2 separate regions of the Homo sapiens genome follow, and region 2 is linked to region 1. The links are contacts of gene promoters, found by promoter capture Hi-C in human tissues and cell types (Jung and others, 2019). All regions are on one chromosome and are shown on one strand. Each heading gives the region's core, a stretch centred on a gene start or on the middle of the fragment in contact. The rest is flanking DNA. Distances are from core to core; before and after follow the strand shown. Region 1 holds the start of DUSP22 (dual specificity phosphatase 22). Region 2 has its middle 30 kb from the start of EXOC2.

The links. The method cuts DNA at HindIII sites, captures the fragments that hold promoters and counts their contacts. A contact is called where the count stands out against the background at its distance.
Region 2: a contact is called between a fragment that was not itself captured here and the fragment with the promoter of DUSP22 in region 1, in 1 of the 25 tissues and cell types used here (mesendoderm cells).

What each region holds. Positions count from the first base shown.
Region 1 is chr6:291,237-298,500 of GRCh38, forward strand. DUSP22 (dual specificity phosphatase 22) reads left to right here and starts at 1,251. Exons shown (of 7, transcript NM_001286555.3): 1 at 1,251-1,324. The coding sequence starts at 1,304. RefSeq lists enhancers at 214-503, 430-930, 931-1,431, 1,724-1,983, 5,411-5,570 and 1 more and silencers at 614-1,633, 2,378-2,534, 2,414-2,473, 2,484-2,543. The HindIII fragment of the contact is 13,317 bases long and covers 1-7,264 here.
Region 2 is chr6:719,762-727,025 of GRCh38, forward strand. No RefSeq gene overlaps it. Among named protein-coding and RNA genes, the nearest start is that of EXOC2, 30 kb to the left of the region's middle. RefSeq lists a silencer at 2,342-2,421. The HindIII fragment of the contact is 7,049 bases long and covers 749-7,264 here.

The DNA.
Region 1 (7,264 bases), core at 1-2,500:
GGCAGGTATGCAGAGAGCTGGGGATCCAGGTGTCTGGATAGAGAGCACAGCCCAGCAAGCCTGACAGGCTCAAGGAACAGACAGGAGACCAGCATGTGTGTAACTCGCTTAGCAAGAAGATAAAATGAAGTCAGCAGGGGTGAGCCAGGGCACGTCAGATTGACGCATGTACTCATTCAGCAAATATTTATTAAGCACCTACTATGTTCAGGACATTGTTGAGGATACATAAATTAAGAAGAAAAACCACTGGCTCAAGGATTCTGTCGCTGGAGAGAAACTTCAGAGTTTAATAACGTTGATAGAACACCCAAAACAATTCTGCTACAGTTTAGAAATTGATCCATTCCAGACAGAACCACAATGCAGACATTAAGGGACACACATCATCTAAGGCCGTGAGGTCTGAGGTCAGAGATCCAGCCATCTGCTCCCCCAGGGTAGGGAGGTCGGGCCTCCCCGGGGTGAGTCACGTAGCCCACCTCTCCCCACCAGGCGAGGCTTCTCGGTCTTGGTGCATGGGGCAGGGCCGCAGGAAATCCCCCAGCCTAAATCTGCCGCACTCAGAAAACCCAGGCAGGGGAGCCCCCAGAGACCAGGCCTCTGATTAGCACCTGATTCACGGAGGCAGCCAAGGCTGGGTAGCGACTGCTGGTAACTGGCCCCCGGAGTCGCCCCAGGGGAAAAGGCCAAAGGGGGATCTGGAGACCCCCGGCCGGGGAGCGGGCTCCGAGACGAGCGCAGCCGCCCGGTCAGGGCAGCGCCTGCGCGTCCGCCAGGCCCCGCCGCGCAGCCTCGGGTGTCCCGGCGGGGCGGCTCGGGCCGCGCACGCGCTCTGGCCTCCGGGGCCGGCCGCCTGGGAGCCCGAGCCTAGTGCCTCCCACGCCCGGCGGCCGCGAGCCGGGGTCCGCGAGGGCGGAGTGGGGCGCGGCAGCCAGGAACCCGACTACGAATCCCAGGGTGCGGGCGGGCGGAGCGAGGAGGGACGCTGGGCCTGCCCGGTGCGCACGGGGGCGGGGACCGGCAAGGCGGGACCATTTCCCGGCATAGGCTCCGGTGCCCCTGCCCGGCTCCCGCCGGGAAGTTCTAGGCCGCCGCACAGAAAGCCCTGCCCTCCACGCCGGGTCTCTGGAGCGCCCTGGGTTGCCCGGCCGGTCCCTGCCGCTGACTTGTTGACACTGCGAGCACTCAGTCCCTCCCGCGCGCCTCCTCCCCGCCCGCCCCGCCGCTCCTCCTCCCTGTAACATGCCATAGTGCGCCTGCGACCACACGGCCGGGGCGCTAGCGTTCGCCTTCAGCCACCATGGGGAATGGGATGAACAAGGTAACGTCTTCCCTCGTTCGCGCTGGGTTTGCCTCCGCTCCGACGCCCTGCCGTCTCGCCGGCGTCGGCTGCCCGACGACTCGAGCCCGGGGTGCCCTTTCCCGCGGTGGGGACGGGCGCGGAGGGAGGGGCGGCGCGCCTGGGCGGCGACCGCGGAGTCGGGGTTCGGAGGTGTTCCCGCCCCCACCCCACCCGGCTTCCGGGTAGGCAGCCCCCAGCCGCCTGCCTTGCCAGCCGGTGCGTTTTCGTGGCTGAAACAAGCCGCGCCCTTTGAAAGCGTTGACACTTGTTCTGCCGAGAGGTCAGCTGAGCTCCGAATGGATGTGGCTTCTTTTTTGCCCTCCTCTTCGCTCCCAAACTACGCTCTTGAAGCCACCACCGCCCCCCCCACATCATTAGTAAACGGGTGTCCTCTGTAATTTCCTCTTTCTCCTCAGATTCTGTGTGTGTGCCTGTGAGCACAGAGAAGTTTTTCTTGTGGACAGAGAAGTTAACAGAGTCCTAAGTCCTGAGCTGTTTCTAGATAGTGGGGAGGAGAGAAAAGATTCAGAGTTGATTAGGTTATGTGACTTCTGCAACAAGGGCAACCTGTTGCTGGCTGCTTGCGCTGATGAGGCCTTCTGGAAAATCTGTGTTGCTCCATTTGTCCCGTCCGTTTCTGGGCCCCACCCTGTGTTCTTTTGTTGCCCGCACCTCACTTCCCGGGCGGTGGGCTAGCCTTTCCCGTCCAGGGAAGTTGCCAGATTCCAGCTCTGGCAGCTGAGAGTTGCCGGGGTGTATTCATGTGAACCACAGGGTTAAGGATTTTGTTACTTGGTACTTGGCTGGTTTCGAGGAAGGATTGACAAGACTTTACAAAGCCCGCAACAAAGACAAGTACCTTTTTACGGGTCTTTGAATGGTCCTGGATTAGATGAGTCGTCTTTCTGCTTCACTTTTTCATTGCGCTCCACCCACCCACATCTCTACATGCCGTCAGCTTCCACACTGGGTGGGGATGGCAATGTGGCTGTGTTTTTTTTCATGTCCCTCAGCACTGGGTCAGCAGTGGTTTGGGTGTTGGGGCTGGAGTGTTGCAAATGCGGATTCACGGTAGGGCAGGGAAAACCTAGCTAACTTTTCACGTGCGCATGTCGTGTTTATTGTGTCCTGGTTACCCAGTTTGTGAAAGAACTATTGTGTGTTTGGGACCTGCATATCAATACTGGGGTATTTTGGTAAAGAGAATTGTATTCACTTTTTTTTTTTTTTTTTTTTTGGCGAGTGATCAAGTTTGGAAACAGACTGTCTCTCTCTTGGATAAATACTTGTATTATATTCCGATGAGCACTGGAATCCATCAGCACCACGAGCCTTCTGCTTTTTAAATTAAAACAGAACAATAAAGATGGTCATCATAAGTCTGTGGGCTCCGTTTGCCTTCCCATTGGTGGTGGTATCTCAGCTTTCCTTTGGCTGTTTCTAGTTTTCCCACTTGAGCTGTTCACTCTCCACCGTTTTCAGCATTTAATTTATAGTATTTGTGTAATACAATTCAAAAAATATATTTAGGAATACAGATGGTTGCCTAAGGGATCAACGTTATTTTCATGCTTTTCAACAAAAGCAGTAATATTCATATACTTTTTACCTTTCAAAATGGGTAATAAATTTCTTGACTTTTATTATCTTGTGAATAGAGACTCACAGTGTATCAATGAAGAAATACATGTATAGAGAGATTTAGAGACTTCCCTGCTTCAACACTTATTGATTATGTACATACTATGAGCCAGGTGTTGTGCTAGTGGGTGGGGAGGGGGCAAAGGGAGTACAGTGGTAAATGACCCAAAGATTCTTCACAGAACCTTCAGTACAGGTCAGCATTGTCCAGCACTAATATGATGCGAGCTATATATGTAACTTAAAATGTTCCGGTAGCCACATTAAAAAATAAACCGGTGAAATTAATTTTAATAATATATTTTATTTAACAATATATTAAAACTATTGTTTCAACATGTAACCAATATATAAAGTTATTCATGGAAGATTCCATGTTTTTTACTATGTCTTTGTGAAAGGAAAAATCTCGGGACCCCCAGATCACTTAACCTTCAAAGTCTAGTGTGTATTTTATGCCTAAATCACATCTCATTTTGGACTAGCCACATTTGGAGTACTCGATAGTCACTGTGGCTAATGGCTGCTGTGTTGCACAACACAGGGTGTGTATGTGTGTGGGGGTGAGAGAGAGAACAAACACAAGGTAGGGAGGAGTAGAGGCTCCAGAGGATAAAATAGGCAATTTCAGAAAAGTGGGGAAAGCAGAAGATGGGATGAAAGTGACCTAGAAGGGGCATTCAGCCCAGGCAAGGAATCCTGCTGCAGTAAACATGTTTAACGTGAGATCAGGAGGAACTACCCCAAATCACAAGGTTCATTAGTGGCAAAGTAGATCGCAGGAGGCCAGTAACTTAAGAACCTTAACTAGAACTTTTCCATATATTACTGTGTGACTTGGAACGAGGCTTCATCTGTAAAAAAAGAAGAATGGTTGATTTGCAGAATCAGCGGAAGGTGCTACCCCTAGAAATCCTTTTCTAAGAACATTTATAAATATGTGCAATGTCTTTGGAACTAACATAACTTGGAATGTGTGTGCCCTGAGGTTACTGGGACAAGATTTCTTTCCAATCTCGTACACATTGGTCATTTTTGGCAAAAGAGCATTTCTGGTCTAAACAGTGCACGCTGCATTCTGAGTGCTTTGGGACAGCAGTTTTTATCATTCACATCCCTGTGGTGGCTCTTCTTGTCGGTCCGTTCCGGGCTCCTGTACGGCGGAATATTGTGCCCGTTTCCGTTAGGTGTACGCAGCAGATTATACAGAAGATGGAGGGGAAAAAGGCTTTTATATTCTAGAAAATTAAAGATGAGGAAATAAAGACAGGACTGGGCGTGGTGGCTCGTGCCTGTAATCACAGCACTTTGGGAGATTGAGGCAGGTGGACTGCTTGAGTCCAGGAGTTTAGAACCAGCCTGGGCAACATGGCAAAACCCTGTTTCTACCAAAAATACAAAAAAAAAACCCACAAAAACAAAGCAATCAGCCGAGTGTGTGGTGGCTTGTGCCTGTAGTCCCAGCTACTTGGGAGGCTGAGGTGGGAGAATCACCTCAGCCCGGGAAGTCTAGGCTGGAGCGAGTCGTGATTGTGCCACCGCACTCCAGCCTGAGCGACAGAGCGAGACCCTGTTTCAAAAAAAAAAAAAAAAAAACCCAACAACAACACAGTTGTGAACCATTTTTTTTAACACTTTATAAAATCTCAGCCTCACGGTAGCCCTATGAGGTCAAACGACCTTATATTTGCCCAGATTGGGGAATGGAGATTTGGAGAGGTTAGGTAGCATAAGTAATGCCAGGCAGGGCAGAACCCAGTCTCCACTGATTTTGAAGATAGGAAAAGTCTTTCCTTTGAGCTGAGATGCTAATTCATCCCAAGTAAGTTTTAAAATTCCTAAAAAGTAACTTGAAAAGCTCCTCATAGCTTCGATTACTTGTCAAATAGCCAAAATCACCTCCTCTCTTCCTTTATGTTTGACATTGATAAGGAAGGGGGTAATTACAGGCAAGAAACTAAAACTTTTTTTTTATTGTTTTTGTTTGTGTGTGCAATTCCTAGGTAGATGCCCCACACTGGCCAAAATTATAATTGCCAATGAGTTTATGGTGTGTTTTGAGTACTTTACCACATAGAGTAAGCCACAACTCCATGAAGTAGATCCTGTTATTTTCATGCCTGTTTTCTGGTTGTACACAGAGGCTAAGGGAACTGCCAGGGTCACCCAGCTGGTGAGTAGCAGAGCCTGGACTCAAAGCCACAGTCTGGCTCGGCCACAATGCAGAGTGCCTCACCACGCTGCTAAGATATTAGTCTAGTAAATGTCTCTGGTAAGATTAGGGTTAAACTAAACAGGGTGTTGCATGCAAATGTCGTGTTCCTGTGGAGCCTTTGAAAACTCCTAGTTGACTCAAAGTTCTCTCGAGTCTGAACCCTCAAATCTTTTGGGGGAGAGCCTATAAACAAAACTCCTATCCTCACTGTCTACTTATTAGTCTTCAGTACTACAATACCCCATTAAAAACAAAACAAACGACTAGTCTCTAGCCAAACATTATGTCAGAGAAGGCTGCCCCAAATGCTTCTCATGTGCAAGAAGTCTTTATCTTGATCAGCCTAAAAGTGGGCTGAAGCCTTGCATTCTAGGGCAGGATATGAGGACCCTCTGGTTGGCATCTTGCCCTCCACTGACTGCCAGGGTTCGTTTAGCTCATCAAGCATCCGGCCTGCCTGGTCTTGTGGCCTCTTCCTTCCTCCCTGCTGTGTGTCCTCTGAAAGCACCCTGCCTGGTGGGAATGGCTGCCATCCCTGTCCTTCTCGGGAAGCCTCTCATGGTGCTGGGAGGCCTCACTTCAGTGGGTGCATCTTGTTTCCATGGGGAGCGCACTGTTGCTAAGAGGGGCTGGCTAACAAAAAGCCTGATCTGGGGCACCTCCACCACTGCTGCTTCATGGGTGTGATCCTGAAGAAGTCACTTAAATGTTTCTAAGCTTCAGGATTTTTTTCCTTCCTGGATTCATAGATGTATAGAACTAAGAAACCTTAGGTGGTTAGCTAATCCAGTCTCCTTACTGGCTGTAAAATGAGGGTAATGATACCTTCCCCAATTACTAATTGGGTTATTGGGAGAAGCAAATGGGAATTTATTAGAACACATTTTTCCAAACTGTGAAGTGCAAATACAGTCTGTTTTGAGTGTTCTTGGATGTGACTGACACTTGTTTGAGGATGGCTCTTGCCCTGTTAGGAAGATGAGGGAGTATAGTTGGGAAAGGATTATAATTCAAAGAGAATATGTTCCCTCTAGGCATAGACCGGTGTTCCTCAACGGCTACACCTGTAGACATTTCAGGATAATTACTTGTGAGACTGCCATGTGGATTATGAGAGGTTTAGCAACATCTCAGATCTTCACCCAATAGTTGCCAGTAGCACCTCCCCACCTGTGACAACCAAAAATGTCCCTGATGTTGGCAGATATCCCCTGGGGAGTGAAATCATCCCCAGTTGAGAACCACTATTGAGGGTTCTTCCTCTCAGAATTTCCTGAGGCCTGTGTGATCTGGAACTGGAGAGTTATCAAAAGGTGGAGTAGGGCTTACAGGGTTGAGAAGCTCTGTTTTCATACGGGAAGGGCTGGCAGGTCAGGCACCTTTGTGCTGCTAAATCCATTTTTTCCACCTGGCAGCAGGTGACTTGGCTGCCTGCGTAATCCAGTCATCCATCCATGCACCTGTTCACCATATTGTTATTGAACACAGTCAAGACACTGTGTTAGATCCTGTAGTGAGCTGTTAATAGGAAAGACACGAAGACCCTGCCATGCAGATCAGTCCCAGGCAGCTTGGAGAGGAGCCTCCTGCAGGAAATGAACACTCAGCCACTGCTGCAGGACTGACAGACAGATGGCCACATGCCGGTGGGCTCTGGTTCCTTTCCTCTACACCACCCCCCGAGGGCTCTCTCTTTTCTCCATTTAATATTACATTTTTATTTCGTGTTGAAGAACAGATGTTAAAGGCAGTGTTCTAAGGGCCCAGGAGAGTATTCTCATATTCTTCCCTTTTTATATGCAAACTGGTTAAGTCCATGGCCAAATGGCATTTAAAATGTCTCTGTGACATTTAACCCTTCAAGGAATCCACCAAAGTTTTCCCCTTCATGCCTGGCTTTGAAACCCAGAAAGTCCTTTCTGACATAGAAAGAATTAAGATTCCGCTGCCACCCCCACCCCACACATGGCCTTGGGCAGCTGCTTGCTCAGGAGTTTACTTCTCAGCATCAGTTTGGGTGGGGTTCTTAGATGCCATGCATCCTGAAGGACTAAAATAAATGT
Region 2 (7,264 bases), core at 3,023-5,522, 430 kb after region 1:
TACCTTCTTCCTGCACCATTAGAAAAGTCTTCATATTGGTTTCATGTCTGCCCTAATCAACCCATTCCCTACACTCTTTCCAAGTCATCTGTCTTAGGACCAGAGCCAGGAATAGGATTAATTGGAGTCAGAGCTTCCCTTTAGGGCACTTCACCTGTTGGAGAACTGGAGAAAATATGAAGAGGATGCTCACTACGGGTGCAGGTTCCTAAGCACCACAGGAGTGTTGAAAGACAGAAACAAGCTGTAAACCCAGAGACACGCTGGGAAGAGGGAGCCCCAGCAGCCACTGCAGTGAGCTGGCCACTTGGCCACGCACAAGAAGTGGAATTTATTCATTCATTGATTTGCTCAATCATGTTGAATGAGCACAAATATATCTCTGACTTTGTTGAGCTTCTATCCTGGTGAGTGGAGACACTTAAACATAGGCATAAGTTAATGAGATGATTTAGGATGAAAAGGGGTGCTATGAAGATTCTGAAAGGGGCAGTGGGATGGTGGGAAGGGGTGCTTCTGGTAGCATGGTCAGATAAGTGGACAGAGGAAGTGACGGGACTCCTGGGATATGAAAGATGAGAGGTAGCTGGCCATGCAGGGGAATAACATCCCATGTAGAGGAAACTGCTCTTGCAAAGTAGATAAGATGGGTGGAGCCTACAGGCAGGGTCAGAGGGATTTCAGGTGTTGTGGACTGAGAAGCGCTAGATATAGCATCTTGTTGGCCATGGGAGGTGTGTTTCATCCTAATTAGACTGGTGGCCTCTGGGGGGTTGTGAACTGGGAGATGATAAGATTTTATCTCTATTTTAAGGTGGTCCTAGCTGCTGAGGGTGGAGGTGTTGCTGCTACACTGGGGTGTCAGCAATAGGAATCGGCAGGGGATGGAAGGCTCAGAGTTTCTTTTGGCAGTTAAGCTGCTGGGATTTGCTATTAGGTGGAATATGTTTGTGAGTGAAAGAGGGGCATTAAGTGTCCAGGAGGACGGTGGTGACATGGACTGAGAGAAGCAGGTTTGGGTGTGCCGATTTAGAGTTACAGTTTAGCTTGGGTAAGTTTCCGATGCAGTCATGCGTTACTTAACGATGGGGACACACTCCGAGAAATTCATCATTTACAGGTTTTGTCATTTTGTGAACATCAAAGAGTGAACTTGCACAAACCTGATACAGCACTAGCTTGTCCAACCTGCTGGCTGCAGGCCACTTGTGGCCCAGGATGGCTTTGAATGCAGCCCAACACAAACTTGTAAACTTTCTTAACACATATTTTTTTTCAATTTTTTTTTTTTTAGCTCACCAGCTATCATTAGTGTTAGTGTATTTTATGTGTGACCCAAGACAATCCTTCTTCCAGTGTGGCCCAGGGAAGCCAAAAGATTGGACACTTCTAGTATAGCCTATTGCTCCTAGGCTACAAACCTGCACAGCATGTGCAGTTGTGACACAATGGTGTTTGTGTATCTTAACATGGAAAGGTAGAGTAAAAATATGGTATCTTATTGTCTTATGGGCCCACCATCATAGATGCAGTCTCTCATTGACCAAAATTTTGTTATGTGTCACATGATGTTAGTACTAGATGTTACAGAAAGGGAGATTGGCAAATGCGTTCACAGATACCACTTAGGAAGTAAGAAAAGGGCCCAGATGGAGCGCTGCATTTGGCCAGAGGAACGTAGTTGGTGCTTTTGATAAGAGCCATTTTAGCTGAGCCATGAAGATGAAAACTGCTTTCACCAGAGCATGTTCGAGAGAGAATGTGAGGCCAGAAGGTGGAAAGTTTTGTGGAGAAGAGTAGAGAAGTGGGGGTAGGGAATCTCCAAGGGATGTGGGGTAAAAGAAGGAGTTATTTATGCTGAACTAGAGCAAGCCTTGCTTGTCTGCTGCCGGGAATGAAGCCTTCCAACTGGTGGTGCAGGAGACAGGGCCCGTCAGAAGGAGCTGGGTTCTCCTGCGGCTGGTGAGGTGAGGCACGGAGCACAAGTGATGGTGCTGAAAAAGCTAAAGTTGGGGAATGGAGGTTTTTTCCATTAGAAGAAATTTTTCTCCTAATGATACCAGGAGGATTTTTCCTCCTAATATCACTATATGATACTTTTATCTTTTATGCTGTGAATATTAAATGCCATTTGACTTTAATGGTACTATATAAACACGATGTATAATGCAAGTACTAACATTATAATTGTAATTTTAAAGAATAGTTTAATGAATGTAATGACTATTCAAATATCGTGCTAATAATTTACCATGAAGTAACAACTTTTCACTATGTTTATAGCAGATTAAGAAAAATGTCCCTTTTGGGGAGAATAGCGATAGACCAATTTTTGGATTTGAAAATCAGCGTCAATTTCCACTGTAGACTTTGGAAATGACCCTTTGCTTATGAGCTCCAAGCACCCACTAGAGGGCGCATGCGAAGGCCTCTCCAGGCACGCAAAGGAGCCGCCGGAGCCCTTTCCTTAGGAGGCGGATCTTAAACCAAATGTAAACAATTTTGCTTCATAACAGTGATGACTTACTTGTTGCTGTTTCCTAGGCAGCGAATTTAAGGGTAATGATCAAAAAGCTAAAGTTAGACGATTGAAGTTTTCTCCTTACTTGAACATTTCTTTTGTAAAAGCACATCTGTTAAACAAAAAAGATGAATATTGTTAAGCTTTTGCAGAGGTATATAAGTTCCTGAAGTCTTTTGAGATGAAAAAATGAAATCAAAATGCAAAACGCAATAATGATATATTCTGAAAGAAACTCCTCTTTGGTATTCTGTTATCAAATAGCCTTAGTGGGAAATGAATATATAGAGTCCAACTACCATTTCTCTATGGAAATAAAGCCCACGAGGTCTTTCCTTTCTTACCCAGTCCATTCCCTGATTTTAAACATTCAATAAGTTCCAAGCCAAGAAATGCATTTTTCTTCCTTTTGATGATTTTCTGTGGTTCCTTAAGATGGTTTGTAGAATATATTACGGCTGTTGACCCCTGCAGGCAGTTTCCAGATCTTCGTGGTTTCCTCTACAGCTGTGGGTATTTCTCTTGTGAAACCACAGGTCAGTTCAGAACCACAGAACTTATCCTGACAATTAGAATTTTAGCCACTGTCCTGTGGGATTTTCAGAGCCACAAGGACTCCATGCTTTCAGTCCAGATCCTTAAATTAGTACCATCTGATGCCTGAAACATTCATGCGTTATCCAAGGATCCGAGGTCAACCTTTCTCAACTTTTTATTGAAAGTTAGCATATGTGCCCATCTCCTACATGTCCCCACAAATACCCTCCCTAGAATGCAAGATCATGAGAATGAGGATTTGGCCTTCCCTATGTGTTCTCGTGCCTGCCCCGTTGCCTAGTACCTGGCCTTTGTAGCATGGCTGAGTCCTTCCTTAGGGTCTCATTTAGAGCAGTGGGTTTCAAACGTTAGATTGCATTCAACTCTGCTAGAGGGCTCGAAAAAACACGGATTTCTGGGCCCTATTCCCAGAGTTTCTGATTCATAAAGTCTGGGGAGTGGAAGAAAATCTGTATTCTAACAAGTTTCCAGGTGATGTTCTTGACGTGACAGCTAAGTTTTGAGTCCCACAGGGTTTAGAGCATTATGAGTTCCATCAGAAAGAAGAAAGGACATGCCTGATGCTGCAGAGTTCAGTTTCGACTGAGGGAGGGAACATGGCTAGTCTTCACATGGAAAGATAACCCTCATCAAGGGCATCACTGATCTTTGAGCCATGTTAAACGTGTAATGCCTGTCAACTGAATAGGACCTCTGGGCATGGAGAGAGGATGGTATGGAAACAGTCAAGTTGTTTGTTTGGAACTGGGTATGCAGTCACTTCTCACTGATTTCCCTGTGCTATTGTATTAACACTATGACAGTGTTTAAAGTATGAATTATTAACCACTTAGGCTTTTTAGCAAAGGAAGTATTTGTCTCAGTGATATCTACAATGGAAGTATTCATTTCTCCATTCACTTTTCGGAGGCATGGGTTTGGTCCTGGCTTTGCAATTACAGGCAGGAACCAGTAGGAGAACTGATCATCTGCTCCCATGTTGTATGTCTGCTGGAGGCAATATTTTGCCTTTCCATCTCCAAGTGAAGTCCGCCTGGCCCTCCCTGTCTCAGCCTGGACTTTTGGAAGCTGAGCTTCGACTGAATCAGTTTTTGCAAGGTCTAGGCTTTTTCTTTTTTCTTTCTTTTTTTTTTTTTTTTTGAGATGGAGTCTCACTCTGTCGCCCAGGCTGGAGTGCATTGGCATGATCTTGGCTCACTGCAAGCTCCGCCTCCTGGGTTCATGCCATTCTCCTGCCTCAGCCTCCCGAGTAGCTGGGACTACAGGCGCCCGCCACCACACCCGGCTAATTTTTTGTATTTTCAGTAGAGATGGGGCTTCACCATGTTAGCCAGGATGGTCTCGATCTCCTGACCTCGTGATCCACCCGCCTCAGCCTCCCAAAGTGCTGGAATTACAGGCGTGAGCCACTGTGCCTGGCCTAGGCTTTTTCCACCTGTTTGGATATCTGTTTCTTTAAAGAATCCAACATATGCAGCTTCTAAGTTTATGCTTTTCAAACAGGTGTGTGTGCGTTTCCTGCCATGTGCCAGGGGACATGAAAGAGCACAAAGTCAGCATGGCACCTCCTGGAGCAGGGATTCCAGGATTAGCCAAGTTGGAGGTTTTAGATGGAACTGGCATGCTGCCTGTGCCCTGCACTATGCCACCTCTGTTGCAGCATAGTGGACAGTCCCCATGCATGCCTTCCCGAGGGCTCATGGACTCTCTCAGCTTACCAACGGTCTTTCTCTAGAGCAGAAGTACCTTCTCAGCCAGCAGTTAGCCATTGTGGAGGTGCCAGGGGAGTTAATGCCCTTAGGAGCAACTCTTGGTCCTTGGAGGCAGGAGTCAGCACCCACTGAACGTCAGCATACATTTCCCACCTTCCAGCCCTTCCAAGGGATGATCCTCAGAAGTGTGTTCTGCTGGGTTCCTCCAAAGCTCTCAGTGAGACCCAGCTCCAGTTGCCCATAGTGGCAACCCAGCTCAACCATGCCCTCCTAACACCTTTTCTTTCTTCCCTGACCTTTCTGCCTGCACTCAAGTCTTTTCTCAGTTTGCAAAACCAGGATACACAATATTTAGTATCTCCCAAACGTAAAATAAGTGGAGTGCAAAATTCAAAGAAAATTCAGGATGCATAGTAGTGTTTAGAGAACAACATGGGGCTGTCATGATATATTAGACACTTGCTTTCCCTTCCATGAAAAAAAAAAAAGGAAAACAATTGCTCTGTGTTCTAAAGAAGATTCATTATCTGCTGTCTCTTTACTTACTGCATACATACACCTCAGACTTCTGCAATTTGGCTTCAGACCCCACTTTCCACTGAAACTCCTAATCAGTAGCCTCTAAATCTTCTTCTCCATGAGGATGGACTTTTTTTCCATTTGTTTGTGTCATCTCTGATTTCTTTGAAGAGTGCTTTGCATTCTCATTGCAGGGGTCTTTCACCTCTCTGGCTGGCTGTGTTCCTAAGTATTTTATTCTTTTTGTGGCAGTTGTGAATGGTATTGCCTTCCTGATTTGGCTCTGAGCTTGGCTGTTGTTGGTGTACAGAAATGCTACTGATTTTTGTCCATTGATTTTGTATACTGAAACTTTGCTGAAGTTGTTTATTAGCTGAAGGAGCTTTTGGGCTGAGACGGTGGGGTTTCCTAGATGTAGAATCATGTTGTCTGCAAACAGAGGTAATTTGACTTCCTTTCTTCCTATTAGGATGCCCTTTATTTCTTTCTCTTGTCTGATTGCGCTGGCCAGGACTTTCAGTACTGTGTTGAATAGGAGTGGTGAGAGAGGTCATCCTTGCCTTGTGCCAGTTTTCAAGGGGAATGCTTCTAGCTTTTGCCCATTCGGTATGATACTGGCTGTGGGTTTGTCATAGATGGCTCTTATTATATTGAGGGCAACCTAGGCAATACCATTCAGGACATAGGAACTGGCAAAGATTTCATTACGGAGATGCCAAAAGCAATCACAACGAAAGCAAAAATTGACAAATGGGATCTAATTAAACTAAAGAGCTTCTGCACAGCAAAAGAAACTATCAACAGAGTAAACAGAAAACATAAAGAATGGGAGAAAAATTTTGCAAACTATGTATTCGACAAAGATCTAATATCTAGCGTGTATAAGGAACTTAAAAAATTTGCAAGAAAAAAAAAAACAACCCCATTAAAAAGTGGGCAAAGGACATCAACAGACACTTTTTGAAAGAAGACATACATGTGGCCAACCAGCATATGAAAAAAATCTAAGTATCACTAATCATTAGAGAAATGCAAATCAAAACCACGGTGAAATACCATCTCGCACCAGTCAGAATGACTATTATAAAAAAGTAAAAAACTAACAGAGGCTGGTGAGGTTGCAAAGAAAAGGAAACACTTATACATTGTTGGTGGGAGTGTAAATTAGTTCAGCCATTGTGGAAAGCAGTGTGGGGATTCTTGAAAGAGCTAAAAATGGAACTTTTTAACCCAACAGTCTCATTACTGGATATATACCCAAAGGAATACAAATCGTTGTGTCATAAAGACATATGCGTGTGTGTTCATTGCATCACTATTCACAATAGCAAAGACATGGAATCAACCTAAATGCCCGTGAATGGCAGACCAGTCTACCACATTTTAAGTGGTAGATATACACCATGGAATACTATTCAGCCATTAAAAAGAATGAAATCGTATGCTTTGCAGGAGCATGGATGGAGCTGGAGGTCATTATTCTTCGCAAACTAATTCAGGAACAGAAAACCGAATACTACATGTTCTCACCGATAAGTAAGAGCTGAATAAAGAGAACCAATGGACACAAAGAGGAGAACAACACACACTGGGGCCTACTTGAGGGTAGAGGGTGAGAGGAGGGAGAGGAGCAGAAAAAATAACTGTTGGGTATTAGGCTTAGTACTGGCATGATGAAATAATCTGTACAACAAACCCTCGTGACATGGGTTTACCTATATAACAAACCTGTACATGTATTCCTGAACCTAAAATAAAAGTTAAAAAAGAAAATTAGCCAGGGATGGTGGCACGTGTCTGTAGTACCAGCTACTTGTGAGGCTGAGGTGGGAGGATCACTTAAACCTGGAGGTTGAGACTGCAGTGAGTCCCGTGATCTATGATCATGCCACTGCACTCCAGCCTGGGTGACAGAGCGAAACCTTGTCTTTAAAAAACAAAAATTGTTCTAAAG